2 separate regions of the Homo sapiens genome follow, and region 1 is linked to region 2. The links are contacts of gene promoters, found by promoter capture Hi-C in human tissues and cell types (Jung and others, 2019). All regions are on one chromosome and are shown on one strand. The core of a region is centred on a gene start or on the middle of the fragment in contact, and the rest is flanking DNA. Distances in the headings are between cores, read along the strand shown. Region 1 overlaps TCP11 (t-complex 11). Region 2 holds the start of PPARD (peroxisome proliferator activated receptor delta).

What was found. Contacts are between HindIII fragments. The study calls those that stand out against the background at their distance.
Region 1: a contact is called between a fragment that was not itself captured here and the fragment with the promoter of PPARD in region 2, in 2 of the 25 tissues and cell types used here (aorta and liver).

What each region holds. Positions count from the first base shown.
Region 1 is chr6:35,115,762-35,119,265 of GRCh38, forward strand. TCP11 (t-complex 11) reads right to left here. Exons shown (of 10, transcript NM_001370687.1): 9 at 3,467-3,504; 10 at 2,314-2,740. The coding sequence ends at 2,508. Among named protein-coding and RNA genes, the nearest start is that of TCP11, 24 kb to the right of the region's middle. The HindIII fragment of the contact is 6,471 bases long and covers 1-3,504 here.
Region 2 is chr6:35,341,308-35,344,956 of GRCh38, forward strand. It overlaps PPARD (peroxisome proliferator activated receptor delta), which reads left to right and starts at 1,251. Exons shown (of 8, transcript NM_006238.5): 1 at 1,251-1,374. RefSeq lists silencers at 1,103-1,312, 1,493-1,632, 1,663-1,712. The HindIII fragment of the contact is 18,171 bases long and covers 1-3,649 here.

The DNA of each region.
Region 1 (3,504 bases), core at 81-2,580, 230 kb before region 2:
AATGGGAATAGGACAGTCTCTTCAACAAATAATGCTAGGAAAACTGGATGTCCACATACAAAAGAATAAAGCTGGATCTGTTCCTTACACCATATACAAATACTAACTCAAAATGGTAGTTTCTCAATAAATTAAGCAGGGATTACCATAGAACTCAGCAATTCTATTCCTGGATATATGGGTAGACACTCAAAAACATAGAAGACAGGTGTTCAAACAAAAACTTATGTATGAGTTTTGTAAATAACGCCAAGTGTTCACTGTGGCATTGTTTACAAAAGCCAAAATGCTCAGCTCTATATGTTGAAAGGTACACATAGCCAGAGAAGAGAAAACTAAGGGCTTGCTGGCTTCTCAGCTAGTTGAGGGCTGAAGTCATACCCATGGACTAATGAGTGGATAAGCAAAATGTGGTATATTCATGTGACAGAATATTACTTAGCTATAAAAAGAATGAACTACCAATACATGCTAGAACACAAATGAATGTTGAAAAATGAGTGAAAGAAGCCAGTCACAAAAAGCTACATATTATATGATTCCATTTATAGGAAATATTCAGAGTCAGAAAGCCCATTGAGACAGAAAGATTAGTGGTTGCCAGGGGAAGGGAATGGGGGAAAATGGGCAGTGACTGGTTACTGGAATGGGATTTCCTTTGGTGGTGATGAAAATGTTCTAGAACTAGTTAGTCGTGATGGCTGTACAACATTCTGAATGTACTCAATGTCACTAATAGCTTTCATATTACATGTATTTTCTCCACAATTTAAAATACAAATATACATTTTTTTAAAATTCCCTCAAACCAGTGGGCAGGATTGAATGGAGCTATCTTTCCTTGTTTAGGGACAAGATCCCTGTCTCCTCCATGAGAAAGCATAAGAAAATAAATTCAAATTTTCTAAGGTACTGATGAGTCCCTATTTTAATTGTGAAGTACAAAGCAAGGTTCTATTATCAGTCCAGGGTCTGCACCTGCCAACTGGACAATCTTCTTCCCAGGAATCCCTTCAGAGTACTTTTACCTCTAAAATAATGAGGTTTCCAAAACGTGGATTTTTTAAAAATTCAAATTAATAGTTACAAATCAGAGAATCCAACTGGGCAAGCCTCACTGTTTATTAAACATACCACTTTATCTGGGCTTCCCCATCCTGAAGCTGTCTAGTTATAAGACGAAAAATGCAAATGATCCAGGCCCTCCAGCTTTTCTAGTCATAGTAAAAGTCACATTGTGTTGATCTAGCTCTGTCACCTACCTAGGATCTACCCTCTAAAAAAGGAAATCAATTAGAAGGAAACACTGGGCCTAATGGAACTCAAATCCCCCTTCTGTTGTTCTTCCTAGATTAGGTGTGTTAACACTCAGCAACTTCCATCACCTAAAATGATGAGAACATTGTTTTTCTTCACCTTGCCTTGAGAACACATAATTGAATTTCCATTTTCTAAATCTGAACTGAACATTTTCTTCATTTCAGCCATACTAGGTTGGAGCTGGTCTGCTGCAGTCAGCCTGAAAATGAGTTGGTCTCTACAATCTCAGGAGACAAGCCCAAATCCTTCCTAGAACCTCTCTTATTTGTGATGCCAACAACAGCTTACAACCACAACTGCCCAGAATGGAGAAGCCAGAAGGATGGAGGCTGCTCCACCTCTGAATGCCCACATCACCTCTGCCTGGAAAAACCGGGTGTTCTAAGCTTAGAGATGAGGGAAAGGAGACTTACTGGGCTAGAGAACAGGACCAGAATAAACTTGATACAAGTGAGTCACAGACCTAACTGTCCAAGTCTGAACTCTGGATAACTTGAGAGAGAGGTCCCATGAACTCTGAACTTGTCCTCAACAGAATGCTTGCTTGTAGCCAATATCCATTTTCATCCAGCCCCGGGTATGCATATTGCTTCAGACCATGCAACAGAAGAGGAAACTAAGGCTCTTAATATCCCTTGACTTCTTGTTGCATTCTCTGAAACCTTTAGGGAAATTTGGTCCTAGAAATGAACTAACTTCCCTAAACCATGTCCTCTCCTGAGGTGAACTGGACAAAACAAAGGCTTCCAAAAGAAACCCTTATATTCACAATTTGGATAATTCCAGAGGTCTAAGAGCTCCCCAGGAGTAATGCTTTACCCTTAAAGAAAATAAGGCTAGCACCTGGGTATCTTGGCTGTTCAGCTCTATATGTTGAAAGGTACACATAGCCAGAGAGGGGAAAACTGAGGGCTTGCTGGCTTCTCAGCTAGTTGAGGGCTGAAGTCATTAGGGCTTGGCCTCAGCTGCAGCACAGGAAAAATGGAGGATTTCTTGCACTTAAGAAGTTTATTAATGAATGGGTATGGACCAGTTGGTGTTTACATGCTTGATCCCTACAGCCTTGGTGTACTGGCTGCAGGGCCTGGGATAGAAGCTCACTGTCTGCTGGTCACTGGTGATGTTACTCCAGGAAGATGATGGGCCTCCTCTTGGGTCCAAGGTACCAGGGCTCTGAGCCGACGCTATCAAACAGACTCCACTTTTGTTTCCAGTGCCTGGGCTGGGGAAATGAGGGTTTTTAGGATCTCAGTGTAGTAGGGACCAAACACCTGCTGATTGTGATGTGTCAAGTTGACAAACTTTTGGCCCAGTTCTGCCAGTTCTGCTTCAATGAGAGTAAGGCCTCCAGGAAGGTCTAATAGAGACCGCTGCACACCAAGAACCAAACAGCATTTGAGAAACAAATGGATCCGCTGATCTGTGAGCAGGAAAAGACACTGATAAGGGAAAAGGCAAACAGATTTCAGGGAGAAAATTCCCCCTGCACTCTACTCACCCATGTTCTAAGTTAACAGATATGTACCAACCTGCCCCCCTACCTAGAGATAATGAAATTTGTTTTGTTTGGAAAGGGGGCTGCTATCTTGCTCTCAAGGACAAATATAAAAAACTAGTGTGTTAGTAAATTTCAGATTATTCAAAAGATTGTTTAAGTAGCCATCAGTTAGATCCTAGTGAGTGTTTGACATAACAGGAGGAACTTAGACTGATCCTTCAGATGGCTAAGGTTAGGAGCAGGCTGGCCAAGTTCATGGCCTCCACTCCAGCATGAGGGTAGGGGATTCCCCACTATAGGAACATGTCTTCCAGCTAAATTCAGCATTAGTTTCTTGTTGGGAGATGGGGGAATGTCAGATTTCTTGGGTGCCATCAGAGAATGACCTGTAGGCCCAAGTGACTTAACCAGGTCGGCTGGACATATCCCACACCTAGAAGTCATGAATTTCTGGGTGCAAATCATCCTGAGAACCACAGTTAGTCTTTAAACTGAGACGGATATGATTTCAACCCAGCATTTTGAAAAAAATCAAGGCTAAACAATGACGTACCTAATGACCATGCTTCATGTTGTTAAAGGTTGGGGTTCCACGGTTGGGATCTATCTCTTCCCTCACCATTCTTACTACCCCACAAGCATACTCACCAATAACACTGCAGACACAGTTCTCCTTCTTGGCAATG
Region 2 (3,649 bases), core at 1-2,500:
GGAGGTTGACATCTAAGTTACAAATATAATGCACAAGCATTTCAAAAAGTAGGGGAAAAAAAAGAAAAAGAAAAAGAGAAGCAGAAAGAAGGGGGAAAAAATCACTCATCCCTGCCAGGCACGGTGGCTCACGCCTGTAATTCCAGCACTTTGGGAGGCTAAGGTGGGAGGATAACTTGAGTCCAGGAGTTCAAGACCAGCCTGGGCAACATGGCAAAACCCTGTCTCTACTAAAATTACAATAATTAGCTGGGCGTGTGGCGCATGCCTGTAATCCCAGCTACTTGGGAGGTTGAGGCAGGATAATCGCTTGAACCCGGGAGGCGGAGGTTGCAGCGGGCTGAGATTGCGCAACTGCACTCCAGCAGGGGCGACAGAGTGAAACTGTGTCTCAAAAAAAAAAAAAAAAAAAAAAATCACTCATCCAGATAGCTAGGTGTGGCCTAAGGAGCTTGCGGCCTACGGAAGGTGTGGCCGAAGGAGAGGGGAGGGGTCATCTTTAATGATGATGGAGGGGAGGCATTGGTCATATACCTGAGAGTCAAGCTTTGTTCATCGTCAGATGAAAGCCAACTTCTTCCACCAGATTGCCTCCCAGCTGCTAGGTAGTTTCCTGTGGTACATCTTAAGCGGTAGGTTGGGATAATAGGTCCCTTCCAGGTCTTAAAGATGTGGATTAATAAGAACAGAATTTTCTACAACAATAAGGAGGATGTCCCCTATTTTAGGTGAATAAGCGTATTGCATAAGCACATGGGAAGAAAGGTTAAGAACTCTAAGACCGTAAATTTCCAGTTGTAGAAGCCTCTTGAAGGCGGAAAGCCCTTTTTTGAAAATTATAGGCGATATGATCTCCTCCAGTGGACCTAGCACTGGGTTAAGAGTCTCTCCAGACTTGTCACTGCAAGTCACGTACCTTTTCTAGGACTAAGTTTCTTCACTGGAAGATGAGGAGGTTGCACTAGATGACCTAGAAATTCCCTTCCAGCTTTAAATTCCCTCTTGTGTCACTTGCTGGACTTGTTCTACTGGACCTGGCGCTCCCCTGCTCCTCCCTTAGCTGCTACGTCCGCATCCCGCACCAGAGGGCGCCACAGGCTGGCCCGGGGCAGCGTGCGGTGGGCGGAGAGGCAGAATTAGGGGAGTCTCCAGGAGGCGTGGTGATTGGCCGCCGCCGGGCGGAAGGGGGCGTGGGGAGGGAAAGGCCGAGCAGCGCGGTGACGTCTCGCTGGCGGGGGCGGGGCCGGGCCGCGGAGCGTGTGACGCTGCGGCCGCCGCGGACCTGGGGATTAATGGGAAAAGTTTTGGCAGGAGCGGGAGAATTCTGCGGAGCCTGCGGGACGGCGGCGGTGGCGCCGTAGGCAGCCGGGACAGGTCAGTCCGAGACGAGAGAAGCGGTCAGGCAAGTGGCGGAGGGAAGCGCCGGGCCTGGGCCGAGGCGGCCAGCGGGACTGGGGCGCAAGGCCCGGCGGCGGGGAACGGGGTGCGGGGAGCTGCCGGGGTCCGCGGACAGCGTCACGGCGGCTTCCTGATGCTCCGGCCCGCTCCGGTCAGCCGTCGTGCGTTGCCATGTAGGCGCCCCGCTGACCCTGCGCCCCCCCGCCCTTGGACCCCCATAGCTGCTTGAGTGAGTCCGAAATACGGGCCTCCTTCCACCCTACTCTTTGCCCCCTCTTGGGCCTGGTGGCTTCGTCTTCTCCCACTTGTGAGAACCCCGTCTCAGGCCCGGGGGCCTCTCCCATTCCCCTCCCCTGCCTCTGACCTCTTCCTTCACCCGTTTCTGGTGTTCCTGAATCCACTGCCCTATCTAGCGAGAGTCTTCTCTGGGATCTTTTCCTCTGTCCCCCTCGTTATCCTTGTCTCCTGCCTTCATCCTCCCATCCTTGCTCTCTCAGGCTTTACTCTCTCTCCCCATCCCTGTCCCCTTCTTATCTGTGGTCTGATCCCTCCTAGTATTATGGGTCCCCATCCTCTTCCCCAGGGTGTTCCTAGGCTTTTTCCAACTCCGTGCCTGCAGTCCCTGTCTCCCTAAGACTCTCACCTTGGTTCCCTGAGAGGCCCTGTTTTTGCTCCTTTTTCCGATTTCCTTCGTATCAATTCTGTCCCCTACATTCCTGTCGCCCACCTCCTTTTCTCTCCCTGTTCCTTTCCCCTGCTTCAGGGAGAAGCCTTAGCTCCACACTCTACTCTACTTTCACTTGACCTGCAGTTGACATAACCATGGGGTGGGGGTGGAGGTGTTCAGACCTTGATCGAATTAAGAGGCTGATTGACTAAAGGAAATAACAGATTGTGTGGGAGAATGTACGTGGGTGTTGCATCAGAGATGATGTCCAATTTGTAGGCCATTCTTCTTATCTCAGCTTTAATACTTCCCCTTTATGGGGCTGTTGACTTCCAGGAACCCTTGGGGGAGACGGCGCTGAGCTGGATGTGTGCCACGGGTAGCCGGAGGCTTTGTCCAATTCTTTTCCCCTTCCAGGAACCGGGGTTTTGTGTCTTTCCACTCTGGATGTGTGGAATACACTTATACCATGATACCCCAGCCTCTCTCTGCCCTCACTCCCACCCTCCACCCTGTGCTCCATCCGAAAGGACTAAGAGAATTCTCCAGAAGCTGTGCTCCAGAAAATACTTGTGGTCCTCAACCTTTTTTCTGTGTACTGGCTCCAGAACTTTTTTTTTTCCCGTTTGAGTTTTGAAATAGATTGCTGGCCTGATAGCCCTGGGGCTGGCGGGCATCTGTCCCCTTTTATTATTGGTGGCTTGAAACAGCTGCTGATTTTCTCTCATATCTCTTTGACAATCTTTGGCCAACTGAATGTGCCTCTGATGTTGGTCACTGAACATGTTCTCTTGGAGTCTCTTCTCCCTCTTTTTTCTTTGTTCTTTTCTGAATCTAGGGAATCCAAATTGTCCCTCTTTTTCCCTGGGAGCTTAATTTCCTCTGTATCCAGGAGGAACGGCAATCCCAGAGCTCTGTTCCCTTTGCCCAGGCATAGTATGAGGTATCAGATTGATAACTACCCTGGTGGGCTGTGGGGCTGCAGTAGTTAGACCTTGTCAGGAACTTGAGCAGACACATCTGCTTCCAGTCACATAGATCATCTTCTCTGGGGCTTGAGAGCCCACCACCTTCCATGTGTGTCTGGATGTTTAACCTTACCAAGCAGAAGATTCTCGTCATATCCTTCAGTTTGAGCTCCTTTATTTGGCGTTGGTTCTCTAAAGAAGTATTCAAGAAATAACATATCCTTTGTTTCTACCCAGTCTGATCTTGGAGGATTCTGAAAGCGTGACCCACTCTCATGTTTAGAAATGAAGGCTCATTGTTTCACCTGGCCCCAGGTTTCTAGGGGCTCCTCTTTTGATGATTGTGCTGTCTTTGAGCCAGATTGGACATGGGAGTTGGCAACCTTTAGGAGCTGCGGTGGAGAGCCAAAGGAACCAGCTTGACCAGACTTTAAAGTTTTGTAATCCTCTTGTACACTGTTTTCTGTGAAAGCAATAGGATTGTGGATGGCCTGTTGTTGAGCCAGTCCCTTCTCCACTGACCCCCAGACCCCCTTTGCAGCACTTGCAAAGATTTGGGTAGACTGGACCAGAGGGTTTTCCTTGTTCCTGTGAATAGCATCTCTCCAGGGTTTTA